Regions from separate parts of the Homo sapiens genome. Here regions 1, 2 and 3 are each linked to region 4. Evidence: promoter capture Hi-C in 16 types of primary human blood cells and fetal thymus (Javierre and others, 2016). All regions are on one chromosome and are shown on one strand. The core of a region is centred on a gene start or on the middle of the fragment in contact, and the rest is flanking DNA. Distances in the headings are between cores, read along the strand shown. Region 1 has its middle 5.0 kb from the start of PHIP. Region 2 overlaps PHIP (PHIP subunit of CUL4-Ring ligase complex). Region 3 holds the start of HMGN3 (high mobility group nucleosomal binding domain 3). Region 4 holds the start of SYNCRIP (synaptotagmin binding cytoplasmic RNA interacting protein).

Region 1 (4,354 bases), core at 66-2,565, 6.6 Mb before region 4:
TCCTTGCAATTTTTTGTTCAGCCAACTCTTTTGCATATAAGGATAGTTCAGATTCCATCTATATCCTTTCCTGTTTGTTTATTTTAACATTTTTATGGGTTTCCAAAAATAAAATATCACTTTAAAAAGATCTCCATGCAGTTTAAATAACAAGGTTAACAAATAATAGTAAAAGTTTGGAAAGCCAAGACCTAACGTTTTTACATAATATAGTCTCTCTAGGAGATATAGAAACTTTTCTTGAAATATAAAAGTTTATGTGAAATTCATCACTTTTCACGTGGCAACACATGAAACAAAATAAATATTTAACAAAAATTTTGTCTTGATCTTGTAAGCTATTATTCCAATAAAATAATCAAATACTATCATTTCAGTTGTTTCAGGAACAAGATGGGATGGTATTTATAAGTACAAAAATTATACATTTATGAAATTTAATCTCCAGTAGTATGGTGAATAATACGTAACTCAAAAAATCTCTATAAGTACAACTTTTAAAATTTCATGTTAAATCTTGCTTTTGTTTTGATGTTACATTTCTTCTATAGCAGAAGCTTTATCCTGTGAAATACAGAAATGTAAAAGTAGAAAACACTGTTCTCTCAAAAGTACTTTAAAAAAAACTACTCATCTGCCCCAAGAACACAATACAACTGTCAAGGATCTTATTTAACAAGCCACACTCCTCACTGTGGCTTGCTCCCCAATATTGTGTGTTTCTGTCCATGCTTATCTGACTTTCTCTCTCTCTTACACACACACACACACACACACACATATCCTTCTTCATAGAGCATGAATATTTATCAGATTTGAAGCACATGAACAGATATACTATTTGGCTGCTCCAAAAAGAATAGAGATAACCAACTTAAGTGAGCCATTCCATTATTTAACAATGTTTTTGTTATTTAACATTAACAGTTCTCCCTTATATCTCACTGAGGAATCTTTTTACTTAAATTAGAGCACGTTTCCTTTTAATGTGTAACAAATATAGCTAGTCCTCAACAATCATGTTATCCCTTATGTATTTAAATGTTAGTAATTCACTCAATCTTTTTTATCCAAGTTAAATAATTCTAGTAGTTTGTATTTTTATAAGTCTTAATTTGCACAAGAAATACACATCTTCATGGGTTTATTTATATAGTTTGTTTTAAATGATCACTTCATGAGTTTTAACAGTACAATTACAAAGATTAAAGGAGAAAAACAATTTTAGAACATATTCCCCTAAGATTTGGAGCAACACAGTGGATGAAGCAGAAAAAGCTGTTCCAGATGGCAGGAAACATAAAGGAGAAGTCTGTAGGCATGTTCTATCATAGGAAGATGTCTGATGGACTGGGAGTGGGCTGAGTTGAACAGAGAACAGTGAAAGAAGAGAAGGTAAAGTGGGGGAGGGGAGGAGAAAATGGGTGCAGAGGCTCTGGTAGTACACTATTATCTATGCGATGTTAAGATGGCATTTGAGAAAAACAGTTACATAGTCACTTGCCTTTATATGTGCCTAAAGCCATAAACTTCAGGAACCCCAAAGAAAAAGCATTTTAGTTATAGAAAAGGAAGGGAAAGTTTTATCTGACAAATAGTGAGGAATCTATACAGAGTAAAAATAATGGATATCAAGGACACCAAAGTAGACACTACTGATGACAAAGAAGAACAGGTGTTTGAAAGAATAAGGACTGAACATTCAGAGCACTCACAAGTCTGACTTGAGACTCATATATAAGTTCTAATTCAAAATTAAGAATAAAGCAACTTAGATTTAACTGTAACCAAAAATACTCTATTTTCTGAATTCCTATAAGAGACCTAATTATACAATCTAATTTGTATATTATTTTTGTTTTTCTTCATATATGGGGATGTGTGTGTACTTGCGAAGGTCCCCCTGACTTATGCCTCTGTTGCTTTATTCTCTTTCACAGATATTCTCATACATGTTTATTGAAACAATGACTAGCTATTACAAAAAAATTAGTTATATCATAGTTAAAAATTTAAAACAATATTGATACCAGGTAGATCTTTCAACCAAGATGTGTGTGCTAAAATTTAAGAAAAGCTTATAATTTGATTTTAAGATTACACCTACAAATCTTGTTACACTAACAGTTTTCATGTTTACACTTGAGTGCCTAAAAATACAGGTGCAGACGAAATGGCTGGAGTGGATTTTTAAATGCTCATCAAAATTTACCAACTGATAATGATTTATAGACAAACTATGATAGCCTTTAGATGGAATATTGTGGTAAGAATATATGTGGTATTTCCCCTTAACAGGTATCAGAAGTAATGCCTCTAAGACATCATTAGAGAAAATCTTTCTTAAAAATGTTGGGTAAGTAGCATCATGTGAGAAGGAAGAAGTATATTGTCTTTTTGTCTTATTATAGTTTGTACATGTTACACTTTACACTTGTTTTTGTCATTCAGTGTTTTGGGTTTTTTGGCAAGTACTTGTGTAAGAATTCCATCTTTCCCTGATATTCCGGCATTTTCAGTTTTTTCTGTGTCTCTGTAAAAGTTTCCTTCTTTTCCATCAGTGAAATGTTAGTTTCCAAAGGTAAAATACGGAAAATAAGATATGTAATTATTTGGAGAAACAATTCCCATGTTATATTTTCAGTTTGGATATATTCTAAGAACTCTAAAAATATAAATATGAATCTATTCTTTCCTCTTATAATTGGGACTGTCACACATTAAAATCTTCAACATCTCTTATTTTCAGGTTTCCTGGTTATTATACAAAAGACTAAAACAATTTAAAGAATTGGTGTCAAAAGGAGGAAAAAACATGTAGCCTGCCTCCCTGTCTTCCTTCCTTTCTTCCTGCCTTGCTTCCCTGCTTCCCTCTTCCTGCTTTCTTTCCTCTGTTTTTCCATAAGGAAAGAAATGAAGTGCTAAGTGGCAAACGTTTGCTGTTTGTGCAGTATGTATTTGCATTTTTGTGTTGCCAAATTTTTCTTATTTCAACATTTTTACCGAAGTCCAGGTAAATGTGGCCCTCTTCAGATGTTAGATTTTACTGAGTTAGAGGAATTACTAAATTTTAAAAAAAGTTTTTGCATTTTTCACACTCCATAAAGTTTTCAGGACTTACATAAACTTAAACCTCTCTATGGTTAATATTGCTTAACTTCACTTCTTTGAGATATTTAGATAACTTGTTTCATTTTCATTTTTAGATCCAGATCGTATTATACCTTAAAAAAATTTAGATCAGTTTGTGTTGAACACACAATGGCAAATTTCCGTGGCACGATAGTGAAGATACTTTCCCCTAAAGCCTATTAACAGGCATTCTTCTATTAGAATAGTAATTACAAAGGTAATTTCCTCTGTTAATCACCCAACTTTTTTCCTGTTATTATTTTATGATCTTTTCCCTTTTTACTACTCATAATATTTTAATAGAAATTTTTTTAATGTTAAAAAAGATGAAAAAAATAAGAACTTCTGTCACAAGTTCTGGTGTTCTGCATTGCTGTGAAGCTGTGTTTTTTTTTTCCTGGGCAAAATTATTTAAGATGACATAAAAACCCAAAGTCAACCTCTAACATCTGTCCTTGGCCCTTATATGTCATTCCTACTACTATAGTATTCTCATTGCAGCGTTATTCCTTTCTCTCTGTGTGTCAGCTGAAGAACCATCATTTAAACACTTGCAGTTTGACCCTCATTATGTACTTTGTTTCAACACATGGAGATGCCCAGCTTACTAGAGGCTGATAATCTGAAGCAGCAGTGACCCCTCTAACCACAACATCTGGAAAACAAAGGTTGCATAATCTGGCTAGTCTCCAGAAATTTTCAGTTATTAAAATCTGACTTTGTTTAACAGCAATAACTCAATTTATTGAATGGATTGCAAGAGATATGAATCAATGGCTATATATACCATTCAAATTTAACTGCAAAGAATTCACATTTTTGAAACAATGAGTATTTCATATAGACTATGTTTCTGTATCTTAACCTAATTGCTTTTAGTACAAAATGTATATATTTTACAATGCTAGCCGGAATAAAGTCTACCAAGTTATTTTTAGCATCTGCAAAACAACATGCTAAAACTTTGTGAAGTAATCACTTGAGTGTGATAGACTCTTGAATTTTTTTTCAAAACACTTTTTGAGTGAGGGTATTATTTTCATATTTTAAAATTAACAGTTAATTTATAACAGATTATTTTTATTTATACAATATTATTAACCATAGAGAGGTTTCAATCAAGTCCTCTAGCCACAAGTAGATTGAAACTTACAAACTAGAGTCACAAGTTGCATTTACTCCAAAAAATTTTTTAGTGTGCAGATTTTTTCCTTTTAGCTTT
Region 2 (4,958 bases), core at 1,617-4,116, 6.6 Mb before region 4:
GTGGAAGAAAGAAGAGTAACATTCCTGGCTAGGCAGGAACATGAGAGTGGAAAAGAAGCTATGATTGAACTTTGAAGGTCTCTGAAAATTAGGAGTACACTTAGAGAAAGTACAACACTATTAAAATATCTTAACCTCTTTATACTATCTTCAGCAGAAGAGTGACACAACAAAGGTAGAACTGAATAAGGTTACTATTACAGTGTTACACACTATACTGGGAGGGAGAGAGAGATAGAAGACACCATAGGCAAGAAGATTAGTTTGGATGATGCTGTATTAATCCGGGTAAGGCAAGGGCCTGGTAGTAGCAGATGTGAAAGGCATGAACCTAGGAGGCATCTCAAGAAGACATACTTGCATCAGTACTCCCTCTTTGAAACTTTAGCCAAAAAAAGAAAAAAAAAAAAAAGTACTGTGCTCTTAAAAAGATAACTACTTTTGTCTCCTACCATTATAACTAATCTGAATTATATATTGATTCTACTAACTCGACCTAATAATATATACCTTAATATGGAACTTTCGTAAAAATAAAATTCCAATGAGCTAATTGGCCTACATAAGGTGCAATGTGCACAATCCCTCATTATACATGACTTTTTCACTATTAAAACTACTACTAAGAAAAAAAATCTATTTTTTTCTTTTTGAATGCAGATGTACATAATATGAAGTTCTCTAATACCACAGTAACTAAAAAACCTTTTCATTTTCAAAAGCTCTTTACCAAGAGGCTATTAACTACTAGTGAACTCAAACAACTCACCAATGCTGGGTGGGCTACCATAGTTAACTGGTGACTCAGGTGGTCTTCCACAGTGCAACGCAGCCAGAGCAGATCCTTTCCACACAACATGCTTGCAGCCTATTAAACACATGTATTTTTATGCATACAAAGAACACAAAAACAAAAGTGAGATAAATAATGTCTAAATCCTATGAGAAAATTTTCATACTTTTATTTGTGCGTAGTAAAGACTGTCTTCCAGCTCCTAATAAAGTTTGTACTCCAGGAACACTTTGAGGAATTTCTTGTTCAAGAAGAGGTCCTAGTCGATGACATATTTGCAGCAAGTGATCAGGTGCTAAGTGTCTGTAATACTTCACCTATTATGTAAAAGACAAATATAGTAGGTTTCAGTTTATCATTTTAATTTTCAAAATCTTTGAGCAACAATAAAAAAATTCATCCAAGTATAAAATATTTTGTTTTGCGTCTTTGATGTAAAGTAAATCTCCAGAATAATTAAGAATTAAGAACTGATAGTTTGTTATTAAAAAATTTAAGAACACTTAACATCTATGCTGAATTTCATAATTTACCAAAAACCTTACAGAGAGAAAGGCAAAATTCCAACTGCTGCTTTAAATATCTTTCAATCATAAAATAAAGCTACCCACTATAAAAAGTTTGAGCACTTTTGGAACAACTTCAAAATACTGCTTAATTTATACCGGCATTTGAAACCATGACATGAAATGCTAATATTTTTATTAGTCTTTCAGTAAATAAACAATATTCACTATCTAAATAAAATTATATTGGAAAAAAATACTATTGTATTACTTCATAATTAGCTATCAAGTTAGAAAAAAATTTCCACAGTAGTATCTAGTTCAGCTATTCTCAAAGTATGTTTTGGGAACCCCTGGAGGTCCCTCAGATAAAACTTATGAATAACACTATATTAGTTGTTTTTCACTTTTTCTCATGAATGCACGGTGGAGGTTTCCACAGGACACATAACATGTGATGTCTTAACAGACTGAATGCAGAAGCAGATAGGAAAATGTCTCCTCTATTAAGCCAGATATTAAAGATTCACAGAAATGTAAAACAATGCCACGCTTCTCACAAATTTGTTTTGTTTGGGAATAATTATTATAAAAATGTTACTTATATTAAAATAAGATTAGTTTATTAGTATTATTTAATAGGTCTCCAATATGTTAAATGCTAAGTTTCTAATATGGTAAATACCAATAGATTATAAGCTACACAAATAAAGGAACTTCAATACATTTTAGTAAGTGTAAAGGGGTCCTAAGACCAAGAAATTTGAAAATTGTTCCTCAAGTTTACCAAGTAATGGCAACTTTAACATGAATTCCTTTTGATAAGACTGATGTGGGGGGAGGTGAGGATTTAAATCATCTCATTCCATCTTGCAATATCTGCTATACTCTTAACTGCAGAAATCCATGAATGATATGTTTTTAAAGGTAGCTAATACCCATCTAAACTGAAGCCAATAGGAGAAACCTACCTTACTCTTTATCAAAATACACTCCTTCTTTCACAAAGATAACATGGAGCCATACTGCCACCAAATAATCTTTGGTAAGATTATTTAAAACAGCAGTTTGGCATACAGTAGGTGATAAGCCAGTAAAATGAGTATTTTTGGAAAAAGGAGTTCTAATACAGTTTGTATCATATGAATTATACATATTACCTCCTTGTTTTGCAGTCAAAAAGCACACTGACATTGAAGTCTCTGAAAAATCCTGAGATTATTTCCCAAACTCATTTAGCTACAGAATCCCTTTTTTCCCTAATAATATCTATCATATTCACTCAGAACATACTTTAGGAAACACTAGTATGATTAGCTAAATTAAAAAGCATTTAAAAGAAAACTTACCAAAATGAGTTTTTAAAATCGTATACTTTTCTTTAATCTTCCCCAAAATAATTTACTCAAAAATAAAATTTAGAAGTCTAGAATACTTGTAAGGTTGCTTCCAGTTCTAAGCTTGCAAATGATTATTTTAATGTGACTTAATTGATCAAAATTCCTTTTAAAAATTTTACTTTAAAGAAGATGGAAGTTCATTACTTATTAACTTCAGATGTGTGATGATCCTGTTTTAGTATCCTCTGGCAAAATATATTTTCAGGTAGTGAAACTGAAAATCCTTACTGTAATATTCTATCTTTCAATAAAATATTATGAATCCACTCTGACTCAAGCTTTCTTTGGTGATTTAGAATGTTTGAATTTTTCAAAATCAACTTTCATTTTAAAGTTAGAAGAGATACTTCCAGTTCTTAAATTCCTTGTGCTTTCTCTGGCTTTTGAGACTTTATACAAGCTGATGCCTCTGCTGGCAATCTTGTCTTACCTGCTCACCTCTACACCTCATTCTCCTTCATGTCTCAGTCTATGTCTCACTCACTGCCTTCCATGACCTATTTACACCACCTGTGCCCCTTTTTGGACACTTTGTGTTCCCACAGCACATTATACTCCTCGAATGTCCCTTCATCCCTCTAGCACTGTGTAGTACTTACCATATTAATTGTTCTTAATATATTTTGATACTTAGACTTTTAAGAATCTAATGACAGCTACGATCTTCTTCCCTGCAAAAATACACAAGCCCTACCATTATGTGCCCTGTTTTGGGGGTTCATAAGACTCATGCACTATACTAAAATTGCCAGTTTACTTGTCTGTGTCCTGCATAAGGAGAGATTGGGCCATGTTTACCTCTGTCTACCCAATACCTAATGCAGTACTTATAGTTAAGTGCTTAATAAAGTTCTAGTTGGATATATGAAGATTTAAGAATATGCAGAAACGACTGACTTCCCCACTCTCAAAAAACCCAAAACATTTTGTTAGCACCTATCCCAGCACATAAAAATAGATGCAGTAAAATTTTTTTACATGGTATAATTCTTTATTCTAATAGTTTTGGGGTGAGTTTGTTTGTTTTGAGACGGAGTCTCCCTCTGTCACCCAGGACGGAGTACAATGGCGGGATCTCGGCTCACTGCAACCTCCGCCTCCCAGGTTCAAGTGATTCTCCTGCCTCGCCTCCCGAGTAGCTGGAATTACAGGCGCCCCACCACCTAACCTGGCTAATTTTTGTATTTTTAGTAGAGACGGGGTTTTGCCATGTTGACCAGGCTGGTCTCGAACTTCTGACCTCAAGTAATTCGCCCCCTAGGCCTCCCAAGTGCTGGGATTACAGGCATGAGCCACAGCGTCCGGCCAATTCTAACAGTTTTAAAACACTTTTTAAAGAAAGCCTTAGAACATGTCTTCAAACAAATTTTAGACAAAACAGATTAAAGTAAAGGTACTCAGAAAGTATCTTACTTAAGTGGCATCAGGGAACACATATCTCAATGCTTGACTCTCTACTTGCTTCCTCTTAGCAGTCCCTGAGGTACCACCATGAAAGGGTCTCTGGAAAGAACAGTGGAAACAGACTAACAAACAATGCTATTATCCTCTCTTTCCCAAGAATCCTCTTCCCCACCCCTCATTTTCTCAGCAGATGACCTAACCTACTTTACAGGAGAACCTTTTTTAAAGCTGAAGCTTTGTTTCTTCCCTATCAAATCTGTAAACCTATCTACACCTGTACCAATTCTGTCTCTTATTAACACAACTGTCCCTCTTAATAAATATTTAAGATCCAATCCCTCTACTTATGCTTTGAATCCTAACTTCTCTGACTGCACGGAAATCCTACACTATAAATTAGACCTCCACATTCTAGTATGTACACTAACTTCCTCTCAACCAACTCCTTCCCATCTACATGTAAACATGCTCATTTTGCATCCACTTTAGGAAAAAACAAAAATCCTGCCTAACTGCTATTATCCAACACCTCCCCACCCAAATATCCTGGCTACCCCTTTCCCGTTCTCTTCCTCTCCGGAAACATGTTTTTAAAAGAATGGTCCATAGTCCATCTAATTTCGTATCCCATCCTCTCCTCAATCTACTCCACACTAGCTCCCACACTCATGACTTTACAAAAAATAGCTCTTATCAAAAGTTCACCTTCAATTATCAATAACTCCAATAAGCATTTTTAAATCTATACCTTATTTAATGTCCCATAATATTTCACCTAACTGTTGAACACTTCCTCATTTGCAAACTATCTTCTCTTAACTTTTGTGACACTCCTTGGCTTGCTTTCTTCCTCTC
Region 3 (4,914 bases), core at 1,101-3,600, 6.4 Mb before region 4:
CTGAATTGTATACTTCGAATGGATGAATGGACTTTATAGTAAGTAGATTATACTCAATAAATGTTTTAAAGGAAATTATACTCTCATAACTGAGAGTGCTGAGTGTCTATATCCCTCAGCACTAGCCAGTAGGTTTTTAATCTTTTTTTAAACCAGATTGGTTATTTTAAAAATTACATCTCATTATTCTTAATATTGTACATTTCTTTGATTTCTAGTAAAACCAAACATTTCTGTCTACTTGAGTCTTCATTATTTTCCTATAAAGATATACATCTTTTCCATAAGGAAATGTGAGATGCTATCTTTTTAAAACAGCAAACCTTTTTCAGTGATATGTGGTACAAATATTTTTTCCCAGTTTTTCATAAATTTAAAAATTTTGTTAACAGTTTTTTTTCCCATATTGAAATATTCATTTTCATGTAGCCAAATTTATCTGTGTTTTCATTTACAGTTTCTGTTTTTGGTGTTATGACAAGTAATATTCTTTTCAAAATTAACTATCACAAACCTTGATCATGGTTAGTTAAGCATCCCCTGTGCTAATAAGCCCAATGCTACTGCTACTGGGCCTTCCATTTTAAGGAAACAGATAAAAACCTAATTTTGAGTTTCAAAGCTAGAGGCAGATGGGCTTTCCTTCCTTAAACCTTTAAGTGTCAAGAGACATGACTGCTTACATGCCACATTCATGGAAAATTGCCTCATTAGAGAATTTCTGATGTGATACACTAGACATTTAAAATAGTTCTAGTGATAAGGAACTGGAAAATATTAATAAAAAGAAAGAGGTAAAAATGTGTTTCCTGTCGCTAATCATGCCAGGACTGTGACTCTAGGCCTCGCTGGCTCATGTCTCTTCGTAGAACATCAAATCATCACATAACAACATGACCACTGCGGGCATTTGTGGATGTCTGGCCAGAACAGTCTAGAACTCAATCACTCATTGTCTCACCACTGAGTCCATGAATGTTATCATTTCCCCTGTAATTCCACTCACCCACCATCCATTATCTAAAAAATACAGGAAACTCACTTTTATTTACATCTCACAAACTTAGAGATAATATGCACTGAAGAACTCTTCACTAAGTGCTGTATTACTTCACAAAATACTATGGCATTTATAAAAAACCACTTGGCTTAATGTAGTTATGACTATCACACACAAAGATACACATAAAACTTACAAAGAAATGTCATCAGAACATTTTAATATTAATTCAGATGATATTATAGCCCTGAAGTTGCAAAACTGAGGCCTGGTCATGTTAAGATACAATCAGGAGACACACTTGAATACCTGGTAACAAAAAATGACTCTGACTTCTTTGTATATTTGAGTCCTACCCACACTTTTAAGACCAGCCTAAAGTTAACTTTCCTTATCTGTCCTACTGCTTGTGGGATCTATAACTACACATTCTGGAACACATACACAGTTTTAATGTTATTCAACTGTTTTGTGCTGCTAGTCTTATCACCTCATTGAATTAAACACAAGTTCCAAGAGGGCAAAAACTGTATGTCCCTACAGCATTACAACAGGGCTAGGATTCCAGATGTTTTCATTGACTTTATCTGTACCACTTCTTGCTCTGCAGAACAACTTACTCAGATGTTCATTAAATAACATTTCTTGATTTCTAGGAAAGGTTGATACAGGGGGCTAAGAAGGCAAAAAAGTACTAGGGGGACATTTTAAAAGCTTATTATATTGTAGAGCAGACAATTCTTTAGTCAAGAAAAATATTGTGTAGTATGTAAATGCTTTGGCAGTTACCCCAGCTTTGAAGATCTTGAAGAGCTATGCATGGATTGTCTCCAGTTCTTTTTTGTATCTAAGCAGGCTTTACCTAATGACAGTGGTTCCTCACATAAGTTCCAGTGAACTTCAGGATTCCATGAGGCTGCTCTAAGACTTGACTGATAGATGGATGGCCATGATCGCCGTGTTTAATCTGAGGTTGTTCCTGCCCAGGTACCAACTGAGGTCGTTAGGCTTCAGGTATAAATGGAAAGCCTTCCTATTAATCAAGGAGAGGTTTTCCATCACCGGAGAACACTCTGATGTCCTCAGGAATGACACACAGGTGCCTGTACACAGTTTTGCCCCTAGTCTCAGGACCATTGGCTAGCTTATGCATGGGGGTTCCCTGCCTTCCAGGGAAATAAAACTGTAGCTGTAATTTTACTGTTATTTTAGTTTTTTTTTTTTTTCCTTCCGTCTCCTTGAGAGAGGCAGACAGGGGAAGTAAGAATAATGGTTTCAGCAGCTCTGGCCCTTGAATAAACAGCAAGGAAGGGTTCCATCGTCAGGGTCCATTATACATAAAGTGTGCACACCTAACCTACTGTTTATGTAAACAATGGTTATAATTCCCAGGAAAAAAAGATGGCCTCCAGCTCACTTACTCTGTAACCCGTATCTTGATGATTAGTTCCTTTGTCTCTACTAGAATTTCCAATCCATCATTAACCCTCAGTCAAAATGCTGAAAATGGTGACATCACTTAATATCCTAATTCTAGTAAAACAGGGCTAGAAAATACCTTCATAAAATTAAGTTTAAATAATAAATCTCAAGTATTAGTGCTCTTAATATGCCATCTGTCTTCTTAAACTGGGAGTACCTTTGGATTTCCTTAATTCCTCTTGACCCACCCTTTCGTAAGTGAGTACGAAATGGGTGAGAATAAGACTTTGGCATCTATAGCATCTGATTAAATCTTTACTAGTAGTTATTGGTTGGTGAGATGCAGGACAATTTATGTCTTTAAGTCCCAGCTGAATGGGGGTAACACCGCTCAAGCTGTTTTCAGGATTAAATGAGATAATGCAAGTCAAATTCTGCACAGCGTGAGGGACACAGTATGTGCACAACAAACTCTAAGACTTTTAAACACTTTCAATTATTTTTAAAAAGTGGGGTAGGAGACAAGTTTCTACCCAATTTTTAGTAATAACATATAAGAAGGGGAAAGCTTTTGAATTTTTAAAACTTCAGTATTTTAAAATAATGCAGTCACTCTCACACACAAATTAGTCCATGGTCTTTGATAAAGCAAGACATTAGGTGTAATTTTGCTTCAAATTTAATACCCACACTCGTTGACACTGTTGGAAACACTGAGGCTGGCGGTGGGAGGGTGCAAAGCACTTGCTTAGGAACCAGCTGAGAAATCCTCACTGATTTCTCAGGGAGGAGGAAACCTTTCCCTTCCCTCCCCGGGACAAGTCGAAGCCCCACCCCGAGGGAGATTTGTGTCCCTGAATGTAGTAGTTGGTGTCCGGGGCCTGCGCAGAAGAGGACAGTCCGCAAGGGGCGGAAGACAAGACAAAAATGACTCCAGTTCGCTAGACGCGCAGAGGGGCGGATAGCGCGCGGACCCCGCCTTCCCCAACCGAGTGTGGGTTCCAGTCGCTGGGGAGGACCTGGTGGCCCCCTGACCTTGGACGAGCCATATTGGACGCCCCGGCGCCGTCCCGTCTTCCACGCTGCCAACTCCACCGCTCCCGCCCCGAACTGCGGGTAGGTCCAGGCCGCCAGGCCCCGCCTCGCCGGCCCCAGCCCTGATTGACACTGGAGTTGGTACATACGGGTCTGCAGCGGAGGCGAGCAGGAGGGTGAGCGCTATTTTAAACATGGCTTTCTCTTTCCCTTAGCCTAGGAGCCACCGCAGCGCACCCAGCCCGCGAGTACAGCCGCATGGGAATAATCCCAACATTTGCCTGATTTATTTTCTTCCCTCTCCTTACGCTTGTACTTGTTTTTCTCCTCTCGCTGTTTTCCCTTCACACTAATTCGCAACCTGGCAGTTTGCAAAGAGGAAACTCCCTTTCGGAATGGAAAGCCGCTTTTGCTTCTTGTTGTTGGGGGTGGAAAACATTCCAGCGAGAATGAGTTCAAAAAGAAGGGAAACCGCGTCACTGGAGAGAAAGTAACATTAAGAGATCGATGAGGACGGAGTGGGTAGGGGGGACAGAGAGAGGAACGTCTGCAACAGGCATCTAAAAACAAGCGTGGAGGAGCAAAGATTCCCAATCCCCGGGTTACTACCGCGCGCGTTCTGCGCGAGCCATTGCAATGCCAGCATTTACTGTAAGCAGAATTTGAAGGCTTTTGAAATCTTTTTTTGGTAAGACTTACCTTTCTCTTCGGCATAATGACTATGTCGGTGAAGCAAAAAGTAAAGCAACGGACTGGAACTGCTGGCGCCGCCGCTGGATGCTGCCTCTGCCTCTGCAGCTGCTCACGCGCAGGGCACGACGTAGCCCGGCCTCTTCGACCTGCACCTCCGCGGCTCCCTCTGGGGGCCCTCTGCTCGCCTCCCTGCTGCTCCAATGAGGAGCCCCGCCAGCCGGCCGCGAGGCCCCATTGGCTGAGGCAACGTTCTAAATTCCACGAGGGCACGCCCACCTCCGCGCGCGGTACGCGCTGTTGTAGTTTCCACTTCACCGAAAAAAATCTGCCTGGCGACTGAGCATGCCCAGTTCAACTAGTAGCCTCCAGGCCACACAATCCTGAAGTTTCATTGTTTCGCTGCTCTCTCTTTGAGATTGTAAGAATAAGAACAGTGTGTGTCTTCATAGGAAGGAAAAAGAGTAAGAATGAATACGTAAACTTTATAATGTAAATATATACACAGCAGGTACCTTATTCATTTCCTACCCATAAAGGCTTTTAATGAATGTTACATGGTGGGAATCTGTAAAGCGTGGGAAGGTACTCTGTACTGGAAGAGCGTGGCAACTTCTAAAGGCCTCAGTTTCCCCCCCTAGATATATAGTGACAACAGTCCCTAAAATCACTTAGCTCTAATTTTCTGAAATCTGTGATTATAAATCACTCACTAATTCAGCTAACTTCAAACTAGATGTGAAGACGAATAGGACATGTTTGTTACG
Region 4 (4,868 bases), core at 354-2,853:
AGTTCTTACCTGCAACGTAAATTTCATCTAGTTTTTCAGCAACTTTCTGTGGTAAACCAGCATCAAGCAATGTCTGAAAATTTTCTGAATGGATAACTGCAGAAGTAGTATCCATGGGCTCTTCAGTACCATTTCCATTAACATGTTCTGTAGCCATGTTTCCAGAGATCTGTTCAAACGCAATAAGCAAAATTAAACTAGGATCTTCAAAAAGAATACAAGACAATATGAGAGCCCCATCTTTACTTTCTCTACCATTTACTACACCAGCTAGCCTATACCTCCCTTTAAAAAAGCCTTACAGTCACTATCGCCTGACAAGCCAGATTTGGAGCACAGGGCACAGAAGGACCGATTCACCATATTCTTCCTCAGCACCACCCCTGACTCACCTGCTAACACTCCCTAGGAAAAACCATATTACAAATAGAGCCCAATCAGCACGGGTACGAGCCAGCGTGCCACATGCAGCTGTGCCCGTTCGGAAAATGAGGTGTGTGTGGAGAAAGCAAAACTGGGCTCCTCTCTCTCAAAGATAAACCCCCAAAGTGCGCGCTTTTCCCGCCTGCCGCTTATAGATCGGTAACAACAGCCAGCGAAGAACAAAGCGCTCATACAAGCCACCTTCCCACCACCCAATTTCTCCACCCTTTAACCCCGCACCCCAAAGCCCGCCCCTGACTCCGCACCCAGAGCGGCAGTCTCACCACTGCGGCCGCCAGGAGCCCATTAGAAACACGTGCTCTGCGCCTTCCAATGTCCTACAACTTCCTTCAACGGCAACCCAACGAATCCCAAACCAAGACGACCATCACTGGTTCCCAACATCAACCCGAAGCCGCGGTCGGAGCCCCCAGAAAGCTGCAGCAGCACAATCTCTCCCCTGAACACCGAGGCACCGGCGGCGCCAGGCCACAGGCTCTCCCCGCCCCCCAGCGCCGCCGTCTCCGCCGTGACACATGGCTCTCCGCCCCTGGCGCTCCCCGGGCGCCGACGACCCCCGGCCGCCCGCCCGGCCGAGACGTGACCCGTGGCGCGCTGTGCAGGTCCCCACCCCTTACCCTTCCGTGCAGTGACTGCGACGCCTGCCCGGCAACCCAGCAGCGTGAGGGCGTTCAGCGGACGGCTCAACGCCCGCGGGACCGTGAGCACCGCCCAAGCTCGCCGCACGGCTGCAGGACAAGACCCACTCCTCTCCGCCCACTCCCGCGCCGCGGCGACCGCCACGACAGCACCAACTCTGAAGCCGCTCGCGGTCCGTGCGGGCCACGGGACCGTGGAGGCGCCTCCTCCCAAAGCGCCGCAGACAAAGCCCGAACCGCAGCAGCACATGGAAAGGAGGAAGTGGCGGCGCGGGCCGCGGCCTACTCCCAGGCAGCCCCAGTCAACGTGCTCTTCTCCCCATTGGAATCCATTTTCCAGAAAAGCCGGTTTCTACCCGCGCCACCCTCCCCCAGCTCACTCCACAATGTCATGGAGCTCCCCTCCCACACCCAGGTTCTGGCAGTCGTTACCTCCCCGTTGGGCTGAGGCGGAGAAATCCTGTCCGATGGTATCGGGTTGCGGGAAACGCGTGCTCGCTGCTCCCTGTGTCCGGCGCGAGTGGAGCTGTTGTAAAATGGCGGCCGAAGCTCACGCCGCTGGCAGCAAACCCGATCCAGTTCCACTCGCCTCCGAGCGCGCTCCCGGTGCGCGCGCGCGCCCCCGCGTGACCCCCCCTTCCCTTCCCTTCCCTTCCCTCCCCTCCCTCGCGCGTCCGCTTCACTCACTCCCTCAGCCCCTGCCCTCCTCCAGCTCCTCCTTCTCCCCCTACCACCACCACCACCACTAGCCTCTGTCCGCCTTCTCTCGGCCTTTCTTATTCCCGCCCCCCGCTCCTTTACCCCACTGCTCCCACTCCCCTCTGCGGTCGCTCAGGCACGAGTGGCCGCCTTTCCCCTTCTGGCTCGCACGCTCCCTCACTCCCTCCCTCGCTCGCTCGCACTCTCGGCCCGGTCCCCCAGTCCCTGCCGAGTCGGCTCCTCTCTTTCTCTCTCCCGCGCTGACGTGACAACGTAGCCTACGCCTCGGGACGCGCGCCCGCGGGCTCCGCCCCCACGCCGCGCCGCCTTCCCCGCTCCTCACCCCTTGGGTTGGGGGTGGGGGAGGCACAAGACCCCGCCCTTCCGCTCCGACGGTGGCGGCCGAGGGGCCGAGACTGAATGAAAGGCCCGCCCCTTCCCCTCCCGACACTCCCCCTCCCTCTCCCCTCCAGGCGGGGCGGGCCGGCTCAGCGTGTCCCACTCGTTTTCCTTTGTCAGGAGACTGGCATCTCCCCACCCCGCCCCACCCCACCCCCTCCCCGCGACACCATGCGCACGCCACCCCCACCGAGCTCCCGCCCGCCCCATCCCTGCCCGGTCCGGGGCTGGCGGGGCAGAGTGCTGTGGGCGCTGAGTGCGACTGCCGCTTCCCGGAGGGCACCCACCGGTCTGTGCGCGCCCGGCCCCCGCCCCCGGCTCCGCGGCCGCGTAGCCGTTCCAGGCGGTGTCCACGCCGCTGCCACCGCCCCGCGCTCTCCTCCTCGGGAAGCTGCAGGCGCACGTGTCCCCCGGGGCGGGGCGAGGCAGACAATGGGGCCAAGGGGGAGGGGAGCGGCGCGGAGACCCGCGGACCTTTGGTCCGCCGGACTGGCGGTACTCGAGTGCGAGAGTCGCCCTTGGAGACTCGATCTCCCCAACTGGACAGTGGGCCCTCCTCGCAGCCGCGCGGCTCCGCTTTCACGGGAACCTTCGGCGAAGGGAGGGGCGCCCCAGGCTTGGACGCGGAAACCCCGGCTGCTTTTGAAGGGGGAACGGGGCTGGCTCCAGTGGAGCGAGGAGCGGCTCCTGCCTTGGGATGACACGAAGGCCAGATTTGGAAGCGAAACCGCCCGGTGGTGAAGGGTTGTGCAATACTCCGTTTCAGTCCCTGGCCTTTTAAGCAGTTAAGGGCTTCCTCCTGGCACAGTTTGAGCAACTTGAAACAGCACAAAGCTGCGTGGTTAGAACAACTTTGAGAAAAATGTCTGTGTTTCTTTTAAAAAAAACCTTGGCAACTAAATCTTCTGTGAAATGACGTTTCCTTTATAATCGTTTACTAGGTACAAGAAAGACAAGACAAAGGCATTTGAATTACAGACGCGATATGGATACTAATTTTATCCAGGGCAGCTGTAATGAAAAATAGAAACAATGTCCTTTTGATTAAAAAGCTTATTTTTAAGAGCTTACTGGTTCCCCAGATGAGCTCTGTGCTATGATAACAAATCAGTGGTTTGAGGAAAAGTTAGATAAACACTCTTCAAAGTGCACAAGCACATAAAATGCTAGATTATTTTCATAGCTACTTGGATCAGATATGAAGTATGTTTTAGCCAAAGCACCACATAGCCAACCTGTTTAGTAAGGATTTGAGATCTCCACCACCCCAGATTCCTTACTATCAAACATATGTGATATTCAGCTGCTTCAGCCATAGGGATTTTTGTTCACAATGCAGAGGTCGTGGTTAATGATATACATGAAAAACAAAATGTTTAATAGAAAACTATGAAAATAAGAGTCATACCATGGATTAAACAAGAATAAAAATTGGCCGGGCGCGGTGGCTCACGCCTGTAATCCCAGCACTTTGGAAGGCCGAGGCGGGCGGATCACAAGGTCAGGAGATCGAGACCATCCTGGCTAACACGGTGAAACCCCGTCTCTACTAAAAATACAAAAAAATTAGCCAGGCGTGGTGGCGGGCGCCTGTAGTCCCAGCTACCCTGGAGGCTGAGGCAGGAGAATGGCGTTAACCCGGGAGGCGGAGCTTGCAGTGAGCGGAGATCGCGCCACTGCACTCCAGCCAGGACGACAGAGCGAGACTCCGTCTCAAAAAAAAAAAGAATAAAAATGAGTCTGAAACATGTAACACTTTGTTTAGACCTTCCTGGGTATTAAAAAAAATTTTTTAAAGTGCCTTAACCTGGGCAAAGCTCCCAAATTAAAATCTCTAGCTGTTCTCTGACATCTAATTCCTTTCTCTAGCCACGCCCTCAATGTTTATGTGGGCTTTCTGGCACTCCAGATGGGCATTTCAAGAAACTGAGCACGTGATCTTCCCCCAGTCTTCCGTCTACAGAGTTCCCATCTCAATTAACATCCCCCACATGAATTGCTGGAGCGGATCATTCAAGGCACTTCCTTCTCTACACTGCCATATCAGTTAATCAAGTCCTATCAATTCTGTCTCCCAAATATATCTCCATTTATCTCTATGTTGCAACCACCCAGGCAAAGCCACCATCATCTACCACCTGTACTAATGGCATAGCCTCCTGATTCATCCACTCTTACAGCTGTCCTAATCTGTTCAAAGCCCAAGTCATCTGTCTTTCTGTATGACTCTCTGTCTCCTGTGTAGGCTCTCTCCCTCCCTTGACCTTCTCTATCTTAATTGCAAGTAAGATCCTATGGCGTGTCTGCTTAAAACCCTTCATTAGCTTCCAATTACACTTAGAACAACAGCCAAAATCCTTAACTAGATCAACAAAGCTCTCTAAGATCTGTCCCACCTGTCTCCCCAGCTCATCTCAGCCACTTTATGGCTTCAGCCTGGCCTTCCCTTGATTCTGGCATTTCTTTTTATTTGAGACGGAGTCTCGCACTGTCGCCCGGGCTGGAATGCAGTACGTGATCTCGGCTCACTGCAACCTCCGCCTCCCAGGTTCAAGTGATTCTCCTTGCCTCAGCCTCCCAAATACCTGGGATTACAGGCGCCCGCCACCATGGCCGGCTAATTCTTTTGTATTTTTAGTAGAGTTGGGAGTTTCACTATGTTTGCCAGGCTGGTCTCGAACTCCTGAC

What was found. Contacts are between HindIII fragments. The CHiCAGO score rates a contact against its expected background, and 5 or more counts as called.
Region 1: a contact is called between a fragment that was not itself captured here and the fragment with the promoter of SYNCRIP in region 4, in 7 of 17 cell types (non-activated CD4 T cells, total B cells, activated CD4 T cells and 4 more). The highest score is 19.7, in non-activated CD4 T cells.
Region 2: a contact is called between a fragment that was not itself captured here and the fragment with the promoter of SYNCRIP in region 4, in 2 of 17 cell types (total B cells and non-activated CD4 T cells). The highest score is 8.0, in total B cells.
Region 3: a contact is called between a fragment that was not itself captured here and the fragment with the promoter of SYNCRIP in region 4, in 3 of 17 cell types (non-activated CD4 T cells, total B cells and fetal thymus). The highest score is 9.3, in non-activated CD4 T cells.

Annotation. Positions count from the first base shown.
Region 1 is chr6:79,081,116-79,085,469 of GRCh38, forward strand. No RefSeq gene overlaps it. Among named protein-coding and RNA genes, the nearest start is that of PHIP, 5.0 kb to the left of the region's middle. The HindIII fragment of the contact is 1,520 bases long and covers 556-2,075 here.
Region 2 is chr6:79,059,709-79,064,666 of GRCh38, forward strand. It overlaps PHIP (PHIP subunit of CUL4-Ring ligase complex), which reads right to left. Exons shown (of 40, transcript NM_017934.7): 5 at 960-1,110; 6 at 770-868. The region is part of intron 1 of LOC124901346 (a long non-coding RNA gene); the gene reads left to right. Among named protein-coding and RNA genes, the nearest start is that of PHIP, 16 kb to the right of the region's middle. The HindIII fragment of the contact is 218 bases long and covers 2,758-2,975 here.
Region 3 is chr6:79,230,390-79,235,303 of GRCh38, forward strand. HMGN3 (high mobility group nucleosomal binding domain 3) reads right to left here and starts at 4,293. Exons shown (of 7, transcript NM_001201363.2): 1 at 4,157-4,293. The coding sequence starts at 4,171. HMGN3-AS1 (HMGN3 antisense RNA 1) reads left to right here and starts at 3,285. Exons shown (of 2, transcript NR_040671.1): 1 at 3,285-3,538; 2 at 3,673-4,914. RefSeq lists enhancers at 2,831-3,621, 3,622-4,411 and a silencer at 3,569-3,618. The HindIII fragment of the contact is 1,276 bases long and covers 1,713-2,988 here.
Region 4 is chr6:85,641,283-85,646,150 of GRCh38, forward strand. It overlaps SYNCRIP (synaptotagmin binding cytoplasmic RNA interacting protein), which reads right to left and starts at 1,604. Exons shown (of 11, transcript NM_006372.5): 1 at 1,515-1,604; 2 at 10-169. The coding sequence starts at 157. RefSeq lists silencers at 654-703, 924-1,073, 1,664-2,683. The HindIII fragment of the contact is 3,992 bases long and covers 1-3,230 here.